7 separate regions of the Homo sapiens genome follow, and regions 2, 3, 4, 5, 6 and 7 are each linked to region 1. Evidence: promoter capture Hi-C in 16 types of primary human blood cells and fetal thymus (Javierre and others, 2016). All regions are on one chromosome and are shown on one strand. The core of a region is centred on a gene start or on the middle of the fragment in contact, and the rest is flanking DNA. Distances in the headings are between cores, read along the strand shown.

The links. The method cuts DNA at HindIII sites, captures the fragments that hold promoters and counts their contacts. A CHiCAGO score of 5 or more calls a contact.
Region 2: a fragment that was not itself captured here is called in contact with the fragment with the promoter of MSH4 in region 1 in 2 of 17 cell types (total CD8 T cells and total CD4 T cells); the score reaches 8.5 in total CD8 T cells.
Region 3: a fragment that was not itself captured here is called in contact with the fragment with the promoter of MSH4 in region 1 in 1 of 17 cell types (activated CD4 T cells); the score reaches 5.8 in activated CD4 T cells.
Region 4: a contact is called between a fragment that was not itself captured here and the fragment with the promoter of MSH4 in region 1, in 1 of 17 cell types (activated CD4 T cells). The highest score is 5.1, in activated CD4 T cells.
Region 5: the fragment with the promoter of LRRIQ3 here is called in contact with the fragment with the promoter of MSH4 in region 1 in 1 of 17 cell types (activated CD4 T cells); the score reaches 7.2 in activated CD4 T cells.
Region 6: a fragment that was not itself captured here is called in contact with the fragment with the promoter of MSH4 in region 1 in 1 of 17 cell types (activated CD4 T cells); the score reaches 5.5 in activated CD4 T cells.
Region 7: a contact is called between a fragment that was not itself captured here and the fragment with the promoter of MSH4 in region 1, in 1 of 17 cell types (activated CD4 T cells). The highest score is 5.3, in activated CD4 T cells.

What each region holds. Positions count from the first base shown.
Region 1 is chr1:75,795,426-75,798,351 of GRCh38, reverse strand. MSH4 (mutS homolog 4) reads right to left here and starts at 1,470. Exons shown (of 20, transcript NM_002440.4): 1 at 1,123-1,470. The coding sequence starts at 1,366. The HindIII fragment of the contact is 6,934 bases long and covers 1-2,926 here.
Region 2 is chr1:77,593,215-77,596,140 of GRCh38, reverse strand. The region is part of intron 5 of ZZZ3 (zinc finger ZZ-type containing 3); the gene reads left to right. Among named protein-coding and RNA genes, the nearest start is that of ZZZ3, 88 kb to the left of the region's middle. RefSeq lists an enhancer at 1,605-1,724. The HindIII fragment of the contact is 1,271 bases long and covers 926-2,196 here.
Region 3 is chr1:77,466,377-77,469,302 of GRCh38, reverse strand. The region is part of intron 8 of AK5 (adenylate kinase 5); the gene reads right to left. Among named protein-coding and RNA genes, the nearest start is that of AK5, 190 kb to the right of the region's middle. The HindIII fragment of the contact is 4,658 bases long and covers 1-2,926 here.
Region 4 is chr1:77,386,952-77,389,877 of GRCh38, reverse strand. All of the region lies in intron 6 of AK5 (adenylate kinase 5), which reads right to left. Among named protein-coding and RNA genes, the nearest start is that of AK5, 110 kb to the right of the region's middle. The HindIII fragment of the contact is 1,359 bases long and covers 825-2,183 here.
Region 5 is chr1:74,196,731-74,199,656 of GRCh38, reverse strand. It overlaps LRRIQ3 (leucine rich repeats and IQ motif containing 3), which reads left to right and starts at 1,481. Exons shown (of 8, transcript NM_001105659.2): 1 at 1,481-1,661. It overlaps FPGT-TNNI3K (FPGT-TNNI3K readthrough), which reads right to left and starts at 1,415. Exons shown (of 27, transcript NM_001112808.3): 1 at 1,297-1,415. The coding sequence starts at 1,378. It overlaps FPGT (fucose-1-phosphate guanylyltransferase), which reads right to left and starts at 1,415. Exons shown (of 4, transcript NM_003838.5): 1 at 1,297-1,415. The coding sequence starts at 1,378. RefSeq lists a silencer at 1,478-1,577. The HindIII fragment of the contact is 8,918 bases long and covers 1-2,926 here.
Region 6 is chr1:77,301,304-77,304,229 of GRCh38, reverse strand. The region is part of intron 5 of AK5 (adenylate kinase 5); the gene reads right to left. Among named protein-coding and RNA genes, the nearest start is that of AK5, 21 kb to the right of the region's middle. The HindIII fragment of the contact is 980 bases long and covers 932-1,911 here.
Region 7 is chr1:77,221,113-77,224,038 of GRCh38, reverse strand. The region is part of intron 2 of LOC105378808 (a long non-coding RNA gene); the gene reads right to left. Among named protein-coding and RNA genes, the nearest start is that of PIGK, 3.1 kb to the right of the region's middle. The HindIII fragment of the contact is 4,293 bases long and covers 1-2,926 here.

The DNA.
Region 1 (2,926 bases), core at 221-2,720:
TCTGGGAGGTAGCAGAAAAACAGGGGCAAGTGGAATCAAGGAAGCCAAATTAAAAGAGTTTAAGAGAAGACCAGTCAAGAACATTAAACATAGGCCAGGCAGCAGTGGCTCATGCCTGTAATCCCAATGCTTGGGCAGACCGAGGCAGGAGCACTTGAGACCAGGAGTTTGAGACCAGCATGGGCAGCATAGCGAGACTCTGTTTCTAAAAATAAAGAAATTAAGAACATTAAATACAGCAGAAAGGTCACATGAGATGAACTGAAAAATGACCATTGGATTTGGTATTTGTTACTTTACCATTGTGTTGCAATCGTGTGTGAAAAATGGTGATGCTTTGTCATGAATAGAGACTAACAAAATAATAAATGATTTGAAGGACATGCATCTTTTTTGTTTGTTTGTTTTGAGTCAGGGTCTCACTGTGTCACCCAGGCTGAAATGCAGTGGCGCAATCTCAGCTCACGGCAGCCTCGACCTCCCGGACTCGCCATCCTCCCACCTCAACCTCCTGAGTAGCTGGGACCACAGTCACGTGCCACCACACCCAGATAATTTTTGTACTTTTAGTAGAGATAGGGGATGGGGGTGGGAGGTTCACCATGTTGGCCAGGCTGGTGTGGAACTCCCGGCCTCAAGTGATCCGCCCACCCTGGTTTCCCAAAGTGCTGGGATTACAGGCGTCAGCCACCGCCCAGCCCACTCTTTTAATACTAAACATATTATTTTCCCTGAATTAGATGAAATGTTCAATTTAATCTATTTTATCCCACCTTAGCAGGATTTGGAGAATTAAATTCAGCAGCCAAAGATCAGCTCACAACTTCTATCAGCAAACTCACGCACAAACTGTCATTTGTCAGACACTGTGAGGGACGTTATATGGGATACTTCAGCCTTTCTCAGAACTGAGCCATCCACAGTCAAGGTCTTGCAATAGAACCAATTTGAAAAGTCAAGGCTTCTAATCACCCAGACTCACCAAATTCCCAGGGCACTCAGATCTCACGCCCCAACCAAATCACAACTTCACTGTGGTAACCACCACCCACGTGCCCCCGAGCCTCCATGAACTGCCGGCCTCTAGCCTCAAGGAGACTCCTCCACCCAATCACTCCTTGCCTTGAGCTGGCCGGGAGTTTGGCGCGGGGCAGGGAAGGCTGCTGCTGCTGCTGCTCCGGTCGCCCGCAGCTCCTGACGTGCCAGGACAGGTGGATGCAGAGACCACCTGGACCGAAGGGCGGCTCTGTGGAGTCTCCTGGAGTCCGAAATTGTAGCGGGGACCCTGAGGTGAGCGGGTTTCTCCCGACGACGGGGAAACCGCCGGGGCAGAAGGCGAGGTTGATGAGATCTCAGGCCTCAGCATCCTCCCAAACCTTCCCTGACCCGAGAAGTATGAGGTTTCTGAGCGACCCCTCCAGTAGCCCAACTACAGAAGCTGCGCCGCTGAAACGGGCGGGAGAACTGCGCGCCGACGCACTAAGCTGCACTGCGCAGGCGCAGGCAGGCTCAGCTTTCCACATGGATTCACGTACTTCAGGTCTATGACCCTGCTTCCAGCCATTCCCAAACCCATCACTTTCCACATGAACCTCACTGGAACATCCTCAGCCTGCAGGTATCAGACTGACCAGAACTCTGCAAGGCCCATCAATGACCACCCGATTTGTTAGCCCCATTATTCTCACAGCACCCAATCTCCCTTATTGCAAATGTTACATGCATTTCCCACACGTCCAAGCACACTAGCTTATCTTTAAATGTAGAAACCACCCAACACAGTACACCCAGTGCCTTTGACACAATGAGAACGTGTAATGCTCACACAGCATAACCCACCTAAGGTTGATCTTGTGACCAAATATAGGAAAGATAGTTATATTATCAAAAGATAGTATGCACATGGCTGTGTGCATAGTAGAGTAGGAAACAGGGAAAGACTGACTGGGTAAGATCTCTCAGTTAACAATTCCCCATCTACCAATTTCTAGTACTGTGGTTTCTAACATATAAATCAGTTAATGGCACACTAGAAGTTCAAACTCCAGCTTTGCAGTGGTGACCTTTAGAAAATTCCTTAAATAAGGCCAATAGTACCAACTTACCAGAGATCCATGGATTAAACATGACGAAATTATCTGGATACTGCCATACAGAAGCTATTAGAAGACATTAATTTACACCACTACTGAAATCCTGCCACTGTTGAGTATCTCAATAAACCAGTTATGCACAGCGGTTTACCCACATGCAGTGACAACAGTCCTTAAGAACATCTCTGTTCTTGGAATGATTATTGCACAGGGCATTCCAAACATACTTGAGAAAAATCTCAATTTCCATCAAAAAACCTTATTTTCAGATCGGGCACGATGGCTCCTCCCTGTAATCCCAGTACTTTGGGAGACTGAGGCCAGAGGATTACTTCACCTCCGGAGACCAGCCTGGGGAAGACAGTGCCTGTCCCCAAAATTAAGAAATCAGCTGGGCATAGTGGGCATGGTGGCAGGTACCTGTAGACCCTGGTACTCAGGAGGCTGAGGTGGAAGGACTGCTTGAGCCCAGGAGTTTAAGGTTACAGTGAGCTGTGATTGCACTACTATGCCCCAGCCTGGGGAAGAAAGGAAGACCCTGTCTCTAAAAAATAAAATTTAAAAATAGAGAATACCTCACTTTCACCAAAACTGTAAACCCCTAGAGTGATTGTACTCATTTTAGGCCAGGCGTGGTGGCTCACGCCTGTAATCCCAGCACTTTGGGAGGCCGAGGTGGGTGGATCACAAGGTCAGGCTGGTCTCCAGCTCCTCAGCATGGTGAAACCCTGTCTGTACTAAAGTAACATAAAAATTAGCCGGGCATGGTGGTGTGCGGCTGTAGTCCCAGCTACTCGAGAGGCTGCGGCTGAATTGCTTAAACCCGGCAGACG
Region 2 (2,926 bases), core at 312-2,811, 1.8 Mb before region 1:
CCTTTGATGGTCAGTCATTCAATATCTGTTTCAGTTTATCTAGTTCTAGGGAATTCACTAGCTTATGAAGTAGCACATACCATTGTTTGTTATAACAGAAATTCTTTACTTGGTATTAAGCCTCAAATTCCTCCCCAGAAATTCTACCCAGTGATTTGGATTTGACTGTGGGATGACTTGAAATAGGTCTGTTCTCTTTTCTACGTAGCAAGTATTCGTATCTTGAATGCAGTTTCAGTATACCCTCTTTTGCTTTTCAGTATACCCTCTTCTTTAAGTTTTCTGCTTTTCAGTTAGTTAACAACTTCGGTGCTAAATAGGATGCTCAGAGTGTAATTTTATACGTCAGCTACATAGCTTTCTTTGAAGTTTCCTTTGCCATTTTCATCTCTCTCCAATTTATCTTATACATTGTGATCATATTAGCCTTCCAAATGCAAATGTTTGCTTGTATCATCATTTAATTGTTTAAAACTTACATTTACTCCGTATTGCATTAGAATGGTACACTTTACAATAATTTGTGAAGGGCATGCTTCACAATAATCTGTGGAGTTTTAAAAAATATATAGATGCTCTACTTCCTGGGGATTCTGGAATTGGACAGAGATTTTAGAGAGTCTCCTATTTTGTAGAAGAGGAAACTAAAAGCCTGATAAGGTGTAATATTTGATATTCTGTCTAGAATGTCTTAACCTCTTTTTGCCTTTCCTTTTGAAATCCCATCTATTTTTCAGGATTCAACTTGCTTTTTACTTCTTATATGATGCATTGTTTGTATCTCCCTGAAATGATCATTTTGTTCATAACATGCTTATGCATTCATCATGGCTAGTTAAATTTTGCATATGTGTATTTCTCTTAGAGTACATTAATCATTAAAACTCTGGCAAATTCTAGGAATTCACTAAGAATTTTATAAGCTTTCTTATTTTTCAATATTTAAATAAACAACTACTGTTCACACAGTCACATCTTCTTCCCTAAATTGTAATGATCTTGAAGGTAGTGCTGCATGTTGGTTATATGTGCCTCCTTTAGAATGGTTGATGTAACAGAACATACAGTGAATGTGCATGGTAAGTGTTTGAATGGGTTGATGCAAGTTCAAGATAATATTACAAATAATGTTTGTTGAGCAGCACTTTATACTTTGCCTCATAGTAAGCTAATGATCCAGCTGAGAGGACCACAATTTTTTTTTTTTTTTTTTTTTTTTGGGCCTGTCAAGGCAAGTTCATACCATCCTATACTTATCTGGTTGTTTTGTAATTCAATGCCATATTTTTTGTTTATGTAGTTAAATGTTATCTTGTTGTTGGTCTAGTTTTCTAGCTTGCCTGTTATTTCTTAATCCTGATTTTTTTAATCTATAGTATTTGCTATCCTTCTCAGCTTCATGTTCATAAATTTGGCAAGTTTGTTTTTTATGTGTTCATTTAAGTGTTAAGTGTTGAAAAGAATTGAGGCTTGTATGTTCCTTTAGCATACTTAAAGAACTCCCAAGATGTCATAAACAGAATATTAAAACAGTGCTCTAAATATAGTCTAGAACTATATCTGAACTGTCGTCATTGAAGAGTCATCCATCTGTATAACTACTCAGCTCTTATTTTCTTTTGTAGTTTCTGTTTTCATTTTTATGAGCACTTTCTGTTTCTTGAACCTTACTATGCTATGGGACAGCATTAAAGATGTAGAAAAATGGCTTTCCTCTTAAAAAATCACACAATATAATAAAATAAGACATTCATTTTAAGAACTAAAGGGATAGGTGTACCTAAAAATTTTTGCCTTCAGGCAGTATACTGTTTAGTGACCTAGGGAACAGCCAGTCTCTTCATAAACCAGCCATAATATTCCTGATAATTTCCTTTTAGAAGTGACTTTTGTGAGAGAAAAGTTATTATGCCTCATGAGTAGACACTATAAAGTAGGAGAAACTTATCACATAGGTCTTTTTAAATATTCTCCTCTTTGAAGGCAGTAACTTTGCATACTTCTAGCTGTGGGCAGAGCCAATAAGCCCAGTTGTCAGATACGATTCTGTATGAAGAAAGTGGAGACTTAATGCTGTATTTGTGTATACAACATAAATGGAATCCATTTACAACTCAGAAAGAATATATAGTAATGAGTGACCTGAGTGGTACAAGTATCTTAGGATCCTTGAATGTTTTGCTTAGAAAAAAAGCTTTTGCAATTATCCATTTTGTCCATTTTCATTTTAAAGACAAAGAAGCAAGACCCAAGGTTTAATGACTTGAATAAAGTTCCATGGTTAGTTGCTGGTAGAGCTGGGACTTGAACTAGGACTCTTAAAAAGTTCTAAAGAGTGCAGGTGATCTCTTTGTAACATTTTCTTCCTAGAAAAGTTATTTTCCCTTAAAAAAAATTGTGCAATATCTTATGCATATAAGACTAATGAAGTATTTATGCACAGTTATAGAGTAATTATGAAATCAAATAGCCTATAGTTGTTTAATCACTATCCAGGTTAAGAAATAAAATATTGATAGCACTTTACAAGTCTCCTAGGAATAGTTCTTCAGTTATACCTTGCCCCTTTCCTCTTCCCAGAGGTAAATATGATCTTACTTTTGAGAAAATAATTCTTTGCTGTTTTAAAAACTTGTAACCACCTATATGTGTATCCTTTTAACAATAAAGTTTAGTTTTTCATGCTTTTGAACCGTACTGTATCTGTTCATTTGTAATACATTATGTTTGTGATATTTGTATGTGTTTATATAAATAGATGTCCATTTTCATTGCTATATTAAGCATTAGTATTAGATGGACTTTGGGGTTATTAATAAGGCTGCTATGAACATATGTCTTATACTGTGTATATTCAAGAGTTTCTTGAGGTCGTACCTAGGTATGGGATGTCTGGATCTTAGGGTATGTACATCTTCAACTTTAC
Region 3 (2,926 bases), core at 254-2,753, 1.7 Mb before region 1:
CACCTTCACAGCAACACTTAGATTAGTATTTGATTAAATAACTGGGTACAATAGCTTAGCAAAGTTGACACACAAAACTGTCCATCCCACTGCAGATGTGTGAGTGAGCTGAGATCAATAGAGCCCAGCCTAGATCAGTGGAACTGCTCAGCCAACCCTCCCTCCCTCCAAAGTAACCAAGAGGAATAATAAATGGATGTTGTTTTAAGCCATTAAGATCTAGGCAGTGACACAGCAACAGTTAACTGCATATGCAGCACTTCTTACTTTGAAACAATATTCGAAAATCCTTTAGCCCAAGGACTTTTACCCTTTCTATTTTGGCTGTCTGCTATAATTTCCCCAAGACAATGCAGAAGACAGCTACCAGGTTGGTTTCTAGAGTGACCTAGCCTAGCTCTGTGCCTCCTGGAAACGTGTTGAACTCAAAAGCCAGCCTTTATAGCTCCTGTTTGTCTTAAAATCACAGTACTAAGCTCCAAAGCAGGTAAAGAGAAACATTTTACTGTCTTTTGAAAAGCCTTTAGCAAAGAGTATTTGAGGACTATTTAAAGACATGGTGACATCATCTGGAAAAGCACACATTCAACCAAGTACCAAACACAAATAGATGGAAGAGCCAAGGAAACCGGCCTGCTCTTTTCTACTTCTGAAAGTCCATCATATATAATGTGGTATAGAAAAAAGAAAACTGCCAAAAGCAGAAATGAAAGAGGCTCAGGACAGAAAAGCAAGCATGAGAGTTAACTCTTAAAAGCTGGGAAATTCAAAATCCAGGGCTGGACCCTTGCCACTGAGTGAAGGCAGCCCTTTCCTGGGGCCTGAAGCCACAGGCCTGCCTCTGAGGCACGGCTGCCAGGTACAGCTCTACAGTTGTGCACTTCACAAATATTCCTGGCTAAGGAGCTGAGTAGGGACTGAATCCAGTTACCAACCTGTGTGTCTCACTGATGTGTCTGCCAAGACGGGGATCTTTTTCTAATCTGCACAAAAGTACCATATGGGCTAGCAGTGGCCTGACTTGAGGTGAAGGTTTATCAATTTTTTCCATATTAAATGTTAAGGAAAGAGAGTACAGGGAAAAAGAAGCAAAGCAGAATTTTACTGCTTTTGCAAATGCTGCTTCAATGGTATCAGTCAGACACTGCAACCACATCTCCCACCCCCTCAAGAGTTCAAATAAACATGCCTCCATTTATAAGCCAAGAGGCTTGGTGTACTAAAGTGGCCTCAGGCCAGTCCTCTAAGACCCCCTTTAACCCTACCCCAGCACTTAAGCCCCTCTTCTGTAAACATTCTGGAGCTGCTGCTGCTGCTGGTCTCAGCCTTCAGTGACTCCTAATAGAGCAGCCATTCCTTTCCTGTGCTTACATGATGATACTGCTATGAGCACCGGGTGAGGGATGATGAGGAAGGGATGATGTAAGTGCAGGGCATGCTCACTGCTTCTGAAACCAGTCCACCTTGAGAGAGGACAGGGCTGGTCCTCTCAGATATACCGTATGAATTCAGAGCAGCCTCCTCTCCTCCTTCCCCTGAGGTTGTAAAGACCTAAAACTTTAAAGGACAGTGGGAATATTTCATAGGCTGGAATCAATACTTGTCATCAATGCCTCTTCATGGCTTTTCTTTATGTGTACTAAAATCGAAGAATTAAAAGCCTTAAAGAGGAGTAAATACGAAGAAGATTATGCCATGGATTTGACACATTAGTATATATTTTAGAAAAAAAATCAGGTATGAAATTACCATATGAGAACTAAGTGGACTGTAAAATAACTATTTTATGCTCAAAACAGTTTTTATCTTTGAACATCAGCTTCACAAAGGCACATTTCCAAATCATCAGCCTTGGATTTCCGAAGTGTTTTTCCTATTCATTTTCTACTTATTACTGAGCAGCAGGCTCTGCGCAGAACAGAAGTCTGTGGGGTGGAAGGAGAAATTCTCATTGTTGTGAATGCATTCATTGTGTGAGTCTGTTCACAGAAACCCATGAAGGAGAAACTAGGAGCCTCCACTTTACAAGGAAAGAAAGTGAGGCTTGGGTGAGGGAATGACACAAGGACCAAAGTCTCACACCTGGTATGTAAGAGAGCTGATACCTTGACCCAGGGGACTGAACTCCAAAGACTCCATGCATTTTTCCCTATCCAGGAATGAATAAAAGAGGCAATTTGATATTACTTTCTATACAGGAGTATGTTACAATTCAGGGAGAGTTACAATTTGATGCATGTTCACATCTAAGTTAATGTGGTCCCATAGAAGCTATTGTATTTTCTTTAAATTTCAGTGTCTTGCATGTATATGTTGCTTTATACATGGAAAATATTTTCATTTCTGCTACCTGCAATGCAGTGTGGGATGTTGGCAAAAGCACTAGATCCCTACCCTGGGTGCTATGGTTGCTATGGTTTGAATGTTTTGGTCCCCTCCAAGACTCATGTGTTGAAAACTTAATCCCCAGCGCAACCATGTTAGAAGGTGTGGACCACTGGGAGGTGTTTAGATCATGAGGGCAGAGCCCTCTTAAAAAGGGCTTGTGGATGTGGGTTCTCTGCCGCCCTTCTGTGTTCCAACATGTGAGGACGTAGCAAACAGGCCCTCACCAGATGCTGGCACCTTGATCTTGGTTTCCAGACTCCAGAAGTGTGAGGATTAAATTTTTGTTTTTTATAAATCACCCAGTCTGTGGTATTTTGTTACAGCAGCACAAAATGGGCTAAGTCACTAGGTTTGGGTCAAATTCTGCTTTGGACTCTTGTTAACATCAATGAGGTCTTTATTCAGCTTTGAGGGCGTGATCTGTCCTGATCTGCCAGGTATTGTGCCCAGGCTGGGGGTGCAATGGCAGATTAACAAACATGGTCCCTCTCCTCATGAAGTCTAATGTCTAGCTAACTGATATTAGGTAACGATATAA
Region 4 (2,926 bases), core at 255-2,754, 1.6 Mb before region 1:
TGAACCTCCCACCTTAGCCTCCCAAGTATCTGGAACTACAGGCATTCACCACCACATCCAGCTGATTCTTGTATTTTTTGTAGAGATGGGGTTTCACCATGTTGCCCAGACTGGTCTTGAACTCCTGGGCTCAAGCAATCTGTCTGTCTCAGCGTCCCAAAGTACTGAGATTACAGGCATGAGCCATCGTGCCCAGCCTTAAAAAACAAATTTTAGAGACACTGTGGTGTCATATTATGCATAAAATAATTTGCAATTATTTAACCTCCCAAATTTTCACAAATTTCCTATTAATCACACTATCAGTTTCTATGAAAAGCTAAAATTGTATTCATTTCCTCCATCTTCCTTTTTTCTGCAGTCATCTTCTCCTCCTCACTACATCCTTCTGTCACTTTTCTGTATTTAACTTATGTAATCCAGCATTTCTCCTGTTTCAGGCAGCCTCAGTGGCCCAGATAATGATACTTCCTTCTTCCCTATTAGCAAGGCACAGAAACTATTCTTGCAGTAGCCATTGATTCATCCACTTTCTTTCCTGGCGTTTGGGACAAGAATTTGCAAACATCTTAACTACACGTTTGAAAATGGAATGTTTCTATTCCCTCATTTCCACCATTTTCTTTTCTCAGGCAGATGTGGTCTTGGCTTTTACCAATAGTGTATCACATCAAAGTAATTCTACAGTCTCTCTCTGGAGACATCAGAAAGGCAGCCTTGGGATATCCACTTTCATACCTCACAGGGTCCCACAGTACAGTCCCCTCCAATTCAGGCTGCTCTCTAGTCAAAGAAGTCAGTTACTATTCTCAACGTTGTAAGCTTCACTGATCCTTAATTATGCTGCTTGACTATCAGTAAGCCTTCTTTTTTCCAGACAAGGTAGTTCTCATTTCGGAGCTAGCTCTGCTTCCATCCAGTCTCCTGGTTCTTCTCTTCTACTTTCCTCCACTTCCCTGATATTCTGAATTTGCTTCCTTCATTTGCGGTCTGTGATTCAGACTGTCCATTGCAACAGCAGCCCTTCCAGTCACCACGTCAAAAGAGCTTTCACACTTCACATTCTCTTATTCTCCTTTTGGCCAAGTGGAGAAAGTTCAAGGCTGTAATTAATCTTTTTTTTTTTTTTCCATAGAGCTTATGCTTCCCACATTGTTTTCAGTAGAGCATAATAGTTTTCTTAAATGTCAGGCTTTATGTAGCTGATAACATTTTAAAGGTATTTCTCCCACGTTTTTCATTCTGAATTATCATAGTTTCCCATACATGAGGAATGCTTAATGCAAAAACAACAACAACAACAACAACAAAACAACCAAAAGAACGACCAGGTTCTTTTACATGGCTTTGGGTTTCTCAGATGTTAAAGATTTAGTGGCAAAGACTACCTGAATGCTGAAAATAACTTACTGACAGAGGACAGTGCTTGGGGTGATGATAATTCAGAGATAATACACCTATTAATTTGTTCTCTAAATGTAGCATTTAACATTGAATGCATACAGGGACAGAGATGCTGTGACTGCTGTTTCACTTTTCCTTTCCTTTAAAGACAAACATCTGTTAATCTAGCAGCTTGACTTGTATCATAAAATATGCATGTCACTACGGAGACCAGTGAGATTGATCTGAATAAGCAATTAATGCCCAACACTTGTGATATTGTATTTGCAGAATTATGGAAGAAAAAATGTTACAGAGTAGAATAAGAGGAATTCAAACCTTGAGTCTCTTAAAGCCTCATTTATATATGTGCATGACAATGGAACTTTCAAACAATATGATTGTTAATATGGCATTATGTCATAATGGATCAAGAAACAGTAATGCTTGTCATTTAAAATGGCAGGATAATAAGAAAATAAGCAGCTGAGAAATCAATGTTAGACAAAAGTATCCAGGTGGTGGTTTTAGCAGCCAATTTTAACACAGAAATAATGGTTTACATTGCTCTGAGCAAACCTTTACTAATGGAAAGCCAGTCTTAAACAAAAGATAAATGAAAGGATGATTATTTGCTTTTCAAATGATTCAGTTGTTCCCTAAAAATGTTACTAATCAGATACCAAGTCCTGTTAATTCCCAGCAGAATGTAGCTAACTTTAAGCAAGATGCAAGAGGCTTGTTTTGACTCCATGCTGCTCATCACTTGGAGTATGTTTTCAGACACATGTGATTAAGCTTCTTCACCTATAAATGAAGACGTTCTAGGTCCAGTCAGTGGTTTCCAGCCTGGGAGTATGATTGGGGTTTAGGAAAGCAGTGATAAGCATCCACAAGTTACTTTAAAAAATATTTTGCATTTCAGAATGCCTAATGGGAATTGTATTTATGTCACGAAGATGCTCTAAATGTAAGCTAAAACCTTGAGTTTCTTTGCTTGGCCTTGTCAACTTAGTAGTAATAGTGGTTAACTCATGCTGGTCAAAGCTCTGATTGATTATAATGACATTCTAGAAATTTACAGTGACAATTAGGGTAAAATAATATTTAATGTTCCTCAGAGATGAAAAAATTGTGTATCCCTAAGTTTTTGTATCTTTAACATTCTAATATTCCTCCTTTCCATTGCCAATGCCATTGTTCAAGTTAAAGTCATGCTCATGTCCTAGCTGAAAGGTTGCTATAATTGCTTAACTCCTTCTTGACTTCTGGCTTAGTCTTCTGGTCACAGCAAGCCACATATTACCAGCAGGCTGATCTTGCCTATATCTTGCTCAAAAACATTCAGGTGCAGCACTATTCACCATAGCTAAGAAATGAAATCAACCTGTGCATCCATGAACAGATGAACGGACAAAGAAAATGTAGCACATTTACACAATGGAATTCTATTCAGCCATAAAAGGAATGAAATCCTGTCATTTGCAGCAACATGGGTAGAACTGGAGGTCGTTATCTTGAGTGAAATAAGCCAGACACAAAA
Region 5 (2,926 bases), core at 232-2,731, 1.6 Mb after region 1:
GAAAAAGCAAGGAAATGAAAACAAAAATTATCAGAATTTTCTAGTTGCCACAGGTTTGCCTATTGAGAAAGATGATAAAGAAGGTAATATCCATTATCATCTTCCAAAATGTATCTTTGGCTTTTGAAAGTTAGGGAATAATTAGTGGTGCATTAATACGATTCAAAATAGTTATAATGAAGACTGTTCACAAGTTCCTTTTTTTTCTTTTAGATCACTCCCTCCTTTTATGGTTTGCAATCCAATTTAATTATAAATTCTGAATGACATAATGTTTCTTGATTAAGAGAGCGACTTTTAACTTGCCAAAGACTATTGCCTCAATTCTTCAATAAGAAGAGGAGATAAACATAAACAAATCTCCAGCTTTGCAAATCAATTCTTATGTATCACGGACACTTGGTGTTAGGTGACTAAGAAAGACACAACCCAAAGATCCCTTCCCTCAATGTTGCTGTTTATAAATGTGGGTACTTTATTTTCTATTACTTTAAGATGAACCATGCAAACTTACATAGGCTGTTAGAATATAACATAAAATTCTGGATAACAGAAGGTCCCAACTCTCTGATGACATCTTTAAAAGACAGTGTGCACTTTTAGTAGACAGTTGGAATCTCTTTATTGATAAACAAAATGATTTAGCATTTTAATTAGTTAACAAACAGAACTTGTCAGCTAGAATCTAATAGTCCTGAAAGTTTTACTGTTATCCAAGAATTAGTCCCAGTATTTTTTAAGCAGTCACTGCAACACAAATATAATCACTTTTATTAGACAGGTGTACAGGGATTAAGTGTCATAGCCAATTTTTTGATAACAAATTTCTTCCTTTTAATTTTTAATCCATAATTCCTCCATGTTCTGTTACTCCCTCAACAAACGGTTACATTACAGAAGTAGATGAACGTAATGTAAAGCGTGAAGTAGATAGGGGGCTGGCATCTACTCATAAAGTTCAAAATACTGTGCTTCGTATCTTTTAGATTTATTTAAAGCAACTTTTATTAATGAGCTAATCAATGCATAACTTCACTAGTAAGATTTTCTTCTTCTTCCTCCGCCCTCATTTTTAATATCTATACTACTAAGAATAAAGTAAGCAACAAGCATGTCAAGCAGGGACAGTGAAAAGAATAAAAAACTCAAAAGGATTATTAGCTAGCTACTCCTGGGGAGCGTCATAGGCCTACAGATGAGAAGTAAACGGGAAGTGACAGTCCAGCAAACCTCCTGGCACGTAAAAGCACCCTCCCTCTGCATTGCCCAGGAGAACTCCGGTGCCTTCTCTGGTACCTCTTAGCTCGGAAAACCTCCGCAATTTTCGCTGGGTGGCTTCTCGCAGCGATACTTCCGGAGGGTCCCTAGCAGCTGCCATAGCCCCACCTTCCCTGAGACCGCGCCGCACAGCACGCATGCGCCCTGGGGTGCGCCTCCGCCCGGTTGTTTCTGACCCGCCCCCTCCGTGCGTCGCCCACGTAACCACGCCCCCGGAGCGCCTTGGCTGGCGCCCGGAAAACCATGATGTGGAGAACTTGGATGTTGTCTTGTTTCTCTAGCAACGGTCTCAGGAGCAGATGGCCGCCCAGCGATTTGTCTGACTGTGTTGGGGCTGGGCCACTTGTCTCCAACTCATAAGGGCTTGCAGCCCAGTTGACCCGGTGAGTGGTTCAGTTTGGGTGACAAAATTGTTAGAACCGACCCGCTAAGGATAAGGCGAAACTACATTCTAGCTTCCCAGCTTTCACATCAAAGGCGGTTCGTCCTAACTGGTGGTTTGTTTCAGCCTGGAGCAGTTCCCCAGGATAGCCTGATAGAAGATCTCCGCCATCTCTCCTTTCCCCCGCCACCCCGGGCCATCTGCCCCCAACCCTGGGTCATGATACATACACAGTCTGAATATTTAAAATCTCTGCTCTTTCTAGGAACCTTAAGTTTGTGGTTCCTAGAGAGTGAGCCACCCCACCCCTCTGTTTTTTCTTAGTAGGCTACACACGACAGCCTCTCAAATAGTGTCTTTGAAAGTTGTATAAAATTCAGTCCGCAACCAGGCTCCAAATATTTTTGGTATTTTGGTTTCTTCTCTGGCATTCTTTTGTATATGCAGATTAATCTAGAATGTTCAATAACACTCTTAGGAATAAGTCAGCCTTTTTAGGTGTTTTTTTGGGTAGCTATATAAAGGTGTTCCTGTTATAGAACACGAGGTTTCTTGGTTTTACAGACCACTTCATCTTTACACAGAAGAAAACTGAATCAGAGAATAGTGAGTTAGTCAAGGTATCACAATTAGTAAGTAATAAAAGATTTAAGAAATATATTTCAATCCCAAACCCAGAACTTGTGGTATTTCACCATACCGTTTGATTTTTTGAGACGATTTCTCTGTATCAACGTCTTCATTAGGTACGTAGACATTCAGGGCACCATAAACTCTTGTCATAAATTTACTTAGTTTTTCTTCTCAGACTTGTTATACAATCGTGTTCTAATAGTGGAAACATTTGGATAAAATGGCAGATTAGATTACTCTTTCATAGTTTTACATTTAAAACTTCATTAATTAAAAAAACAGTATCTTATTGAAGAACATTTAGAAAATACAGAGACTTGAGTGAAAGTAACCAAAGGAGAAAGTAGCGAGAGAAGGTCAGAGAGAGAACAAAGGGCCATAGGAAGAATTTTGGTTTTTACTCTTGAGGGAAACAAAGCCATTGCAGGGTTTTGAAGTGACTTGGCTTATGTTTAAAGAGATCACTCGGAGATAGGAGAATAGATTATAATGGGGGATGAGGCAATGATAGAAGCAGGGAGACTTCTTTGGAGGTTACTGCAATATTGCAGGTGAGAGCTGGTGAAGGCTTGACCAGGATGGTAGCAGTGGGAATGGTGAGAAGTTGGTCAGATTCTGGATATATTTTTAAGA
Region 6 (2,926 bases), core at 172-2,671, 1.5 Mb before region 1:
ATTGAAGTCATGGAGATAGACAGTAAAAGGATGGTTATCAGAGGCCAGGAAGGGTCGGTAATAAGGGGTTGCGGATGTGTCGGGGGGTGGAGGCAGAGATGGTTAATGGGTACAAAAAATGTTAGAAAGAATGAATAAGACCTACTATTTGATAGCAAAACAGGGAGACTATAGTCAATAATAACTGTACATTTTAAAATAACTTAAAGAGTGTAATTGGATTGTTTGCAACTCAATGGATAAATGCTTGAGGGGATGGATATCCCATTCTTCATGATGTGCTTATTTCACACTGCACACCTGTATCCAAATATCTCATGTGCCCCTTAAATATATATACCTACTATGTACCCACAAAAGTTAAAATAAAAAAAGTTTAAAAAAGAATTTGAGCATAGATCCTCTGCACTCTCTTCCCCTTCCAATCAGCTGGAACCTGGCCATGGCAGTGACCTAGCTTTCAACATGCAGATGTCTACAATGTCCCAGGGCAGTTGTTCTGAAATTGTGCTCTTAAACCTCTGAGGATCGTCAAGACCCCTTCCAGAAGGTCATAGGTCAAAACTATTTTCCTACTAACACTATGACATTATGTGCCTTTTTTACTCTCACTTTCTCACAAAGGTACAGTGGAGTTTCGCAGTGGCGACAGGAAGTGTGATGTCACAGCAGTTTGAATACAAAAGCAGATATGAGAATACAACTCTCTTCTATTAGCTAGAAGTTAAAGAGATTTGCAAATATATAAAGCAATATCTCTCTCAACACTTTTTAAGTTTTGGAAAATATGATTACTTTTCTAAAAATATGTTATTCAAGTTAACTTGTGTGGATTTATTGTTATTTTGAAGGACTTAACAAATATTTTAAAATTTGTTTTGATTTCTCATATGGTGAATATCAATAGATATAGCACATATAAATGAAAGCTTTTTGAGGTCCTTAACAATTTTTAAAAAGTGTAAAGAGGTCCTGTGACCAAAAATTTTAGAGCTGTTGCTCTAGAGTTGGAAAGACAATGAGCTGGAAAAAACCCCGCATCTCTGCATGAATGTGAGGACTAAAACTGTCCTCCCCTCATTCACAGTGAGGCCATCCATTATATAAAAGGGAAATAAGTTTCTGTATTATGCTACTGTGTCATTGTGTCTTTCTATTATAGCACCTGGGATTTACTCTAAATAATACAGCCAATAGTTACATAAGTGGGGGCATGCTACTATATCAAAAAAACTAAAACATGCGACATTGATTTGCTTGGGTAGTAAGGGCACAGACATTTTAGGATGGAAAATTGATAACCCCTGTTATGTCATTGCATAACATCATTATTACTGTGATAACTTGGGAGGCAGGTCATGTTCCAATGGAGCCCATAGCTAAAGAAATGGCTGGAAAGAGCTAGAGTGTCTGTGTACACTGACTGCTCTTTGCTGCGTTTAGCAACATATTACAAGAAATAGATTAACTCAAGAAAGAATTGACTGCTTTGCGAGCAGATATAAGAAAAAAGAAAGTATCCACTAATTTAAGACCGCACAAGGTTAAAAAAGCCAACTGCCTGTATACCTCCAAACAGCAGGAGATTAGGCTATTGCAAAAAGAATTCCCATTTACCCACCACTACCACCAAAAAACAGGGCACCTAGCCCTGAAGCAAAACCTAGACTAAGGATGCTGCCTTTCTACCCAAGCCTGCTGTTTTAGATGGCCTGAAGCTAATTGTCATTAAAATGAGAAAGCAAAGAAATCACCACTATGCAATATATCTGCGTAATGAAACTGCACTTGTACCCTCAATCTATAAAAATGAACAGAAAAAGGAAAAACGGGAAGATAAAAAAGAAAGCAGCTTAATAACTATCTCTGGAAAAGGACTTATGATATAGTTACTAGCACGGACTGGAAGCTTTTTGCTTTTTCCTCTTTTTGAGAGGAAATCTACCAAATTTGGAAAGAAACAGTTTTTACCAAAATAAACATAATTCTAGCCAAAAAAAGGCATTTTTTTTTTAACTTAAAATAGGTCTCAGCCAGTTGCAGTGGCTCACACCTGTAATCCCAGCACTTAGGAGGCTGAGAGAGGATGATCACTTGAGGCCAGGAGTTTGAAACCAGCCTGGGTAACACAGGGAGCCCCTGTCTCCACAAAAAGTTTTTAAAAAACTAGCTGAGTGTGGTCCAGGAGTTCGAGGCTGCAGTGAGCTACAGTGGTGCCCCTGCACTCCACCCTGGCTGACAGAGAAGGATCTTGTCACTTAGGAAAAAAAAAAAAAGGAGAGGATAGCATATTAGTCTCCAATATACTACTTCAATGTGTCATGCAGATAATGGACAAGGAAGAACTTCTCAGAGGAACTGCCAGGGCAAGGACCTTTGCAATCCCTGCCTAACAGGATTCACTGTGGTTCAGTGAGTACTGTGTATATTCTCAAACTTTCCTTTTTTGAATAGGAGCCTTTATTTCATTGTCCTGGGCTTGCTCCTCCACTCTTTATTAGTGGTAGACAAGGAAGATAACATGAAGTTCAGTTTCCAGGTGGCTGAGTATGAGAAGTCAAAGCTAGACCTGATGAAGAAAACTATATATAGAGTAGAGATTCTCCACTTTTGAACTAAATGATGGGACTCTGGTTGTTTTACTTGGGGAGTGAGTGAGTACATTGTATGTGTGGGAAGAAGGGAGCAGGCGAGCATTTGCATGGCCAGAGAGGCAAACTGTGGGAGAAGATGCTAGTTAGTTCTCCCAGACTTCCATAGTAATAGCATTGCTGCCAGGCACCTGGCTGCCCAGCTGGACTCTACTTCCCGGCCTTCCTCTCAGTTCCAACAGGACTAAATTCTCAGCAATGCCTTGTGAGCAGAAGCGATGGATGTCACTTCCAGATCTGAGACTTCAGACCTTCACATTCTCTTCCCCGTCCAT
Region 7 (2,926 bases), core at 285-2,784, 1.4 Mb before region 1:
CCTTCAGTTTCTGTCATCTTACCTTATTTGTATCACCATGAGAATTTATTGTATTCATTTTTCTTTTTTCTTATTGTCTGTTTTCCTTACTGGAATGTAAGGTTCGTGAGAGCAAGAACCTCCTATGTATTTCCAGCTACAATATCCTGGTATGTTATGTCAACTAAAGAAAAAAAAACAGGCTTTTAAATAATTAAAGTTAATTTTATTCAGAAGTCCTACTGAGTACTGCAACCTGGGAGAATCTTTCAAAGAGTTTGTTATATTGCTGCAAAGCATTGATTCACCCCATAGCTTAAACATAGGTGGTGGTTGCTCTGCATGTGTTAAGAAGTTACATCAAATGTGCTCAGAAATTACATTAATGACATGGTTTGGCTGTGTCCCCACTCAAATCTCATCTTGAATTGTAGCTCCCATAATCCCCATGTGTCAATGGTAGGACCCGGTGGGAAGTAATTTAATCATGGGGGCAAGTTTTTCCCCTGCTGGTCTCATGATAGTGAATAAATCTCAGGAAATCTGATGGTTTCATAAAGGGCAGTTCCTCCGCACATGCTCTCTCTCTTGCCTTGCTGCCAGGTAAGATGTGTCTTTGCTCCTCCTTTGCCTTCTGTCACGATTGTGAGGCCTCCCCAGCCATGTGGAACTGTGAGTCCACTGAACCTCTTTTTCTTTATAAATTACCCAGTCTTGGCTATTTCTTCACAGTAGTATGAAAATGGACTAATACAGTAAATTGGAACTGAGGTAGTGGGGCTCTGCTATAAGGTTAACAGAAAATGTTGAAGCAACTTTGGAACAGGGTAACAGGCAGAGGTTGGAACAGTTTGGAGGGCTCAGAAGAAGACAGGAAAATGTGGGAAACTCTGGAACTTCCTAGAGACTTGGAGGGCTCAGAAGACAGAAAGATGTAGGAAAGTTTGGAACTTCCTAGAGACTTGTTGAATGGCTTTGATCAGAAGGCTAATAGGGATACGGACAAAGAAGTCCAGGCTGAGGTGGTCTCAGATGGAGATGAGGAACTTGTTGGGAAATGGAATAAAGGTCACTCTTGCTATGCTTTAGCAAAGAGACTGGTGGCATTTTGCCCCTGCCCTAGTTATCTGTGGAACTTTGAACTTTAGAGAGATGATTTAGGGTACCTGAGGGAAGAAATTTCTAAGTGGCAAAGCGTTCAAGAGGAAGCAGAGCATAAAAGGAAAACTTGCAGCCTGATGACGTGATAGAAAAGAAAAACCCATTTTTTGCGGAGAAATTCAAGCCTGCTGCAGAAATTTGCATAAGTAACAAGAAGCCACATGTTAATTACCACGACAATGGGAAAAATGTCTCCAGGGCATGTAAGAGGTCTTCCTGGAAGTCCCTCTCATCACAAGCCAGGAGGCCAAGGAGGAAAAATGGGTTTATGGGCTGGGCCCAGGGCCTTGCTGCTTTGTGCAGTCTCAGGCTGCTCACATGTGATATTGGGACTGTGGGTGCACGGAAGTCAAGAATTGAGGTTTGGGAACCCTGCCTAGATTTCAGAGGATGTATGGAAACACCCGGATGTTCAGGCAGAGGTGTGCTGCAGGGGCAGGGCCCTCATGCACGACCTCTGCTAAGGCAGAAGGGCAATGCAGAAGGGAAATGTGGGGTGGGATCCCCCACACAGAGTCCCCACTGGGGCAGTGCCTAGTGGAGCTGTGAGAAGAGGGCCACCATCCTCCAGACCCCAGGATGGTAGATCCACCAACAGCTTGCAGCATATGCCTGGGAAAGCCAGAGACACTCAATGCCAGCCTGTTAAAGCAGCTGGGAAGGAGGCTGTATCTTGCAAAGCCACAGGGGCAGAGCTGCCCAAGACCATGGCAACCTACCTCTTGTATCAACGTGAACTGGATGTGAGACACGGAGTCAAAGCAGATCATTTTGGAGCTTTAAGATTTGACTGCCCTGCTGGATTTTGGACTTGCATGGGCCCTGTAGTCCCTTCATTTTGGCCTATTTCTCCCATTTGGAATGGGTGTATTTACCCAATGCTTGTACCCCCATTGTATTTAGGAAGTAACTTAACTTGCTTATGATTTTACAAGCTCATAGGCAGAAGGGACTTGCCTTGTCTCAGATGAGACTTTGGACTGTAGACTTTTGAGTTAATGCTGAAATGAGTTAAGACTTTGGGGGACTGCTGGTAAGGCATGATTGCTTTTGAAATGTGAGGACAGGAGATTTTGGAGGGGCCAGGGTGGAATGATATGGTTTGGCTGTGTCCCAACCCAAATCTCATCTTGAATTGTAGCTCCCATAATCCCCAAGTGTCAAGGGAGGGACCTGATGGGAAGTAATTTAATTATGGGATCAGTTACCCTCATGTTGTCATGGTAGTGAGTTCTCACGAGCTCTGATGGTTTTATTTATCTATCTATTTATTTATTTTTATTTTATTTCATTTTATTTTTTGAGACAAAGTCTGGCTCTGTTGCCCAGGCTGGAGTACAGTAGCGTGATCTTGGCTCACTGCAACCTCTGCCTCCCAGGTTCAAGCGATTCTCCTGCCTCAGCCTCCCTAGTAGCTGGTATTACAGGCATGTGCCCCCACACTGAGCTAATTTTGAAACATGGGGTTTTGCCATGTTGGCCAGGCTGGTCTTGAATGCCTGACCTCAGATGATCTGCCTGCCTCGGCCTCCCAAAGTGCTAGGATTACAGGTGTGAGCCACTGCACCTGGCCTCTGATGGTTTTATAAAGGGTAGTTCCTCTGCACATGCTCTCTCACCTGCTGCCATGTAAGATGTGCCTTTGCTCCTTCTTCATCTTCTACCATGATTGTGAGGCTTCCCCAGCCATGTGGAACTGTGAGTCCACTAAGCCTTTTTCTTTAGAAATTATGCAGTCTTGGGTATTTCTTCATAGCAGTATGAAAATGGGTTAATACAAGTAAAG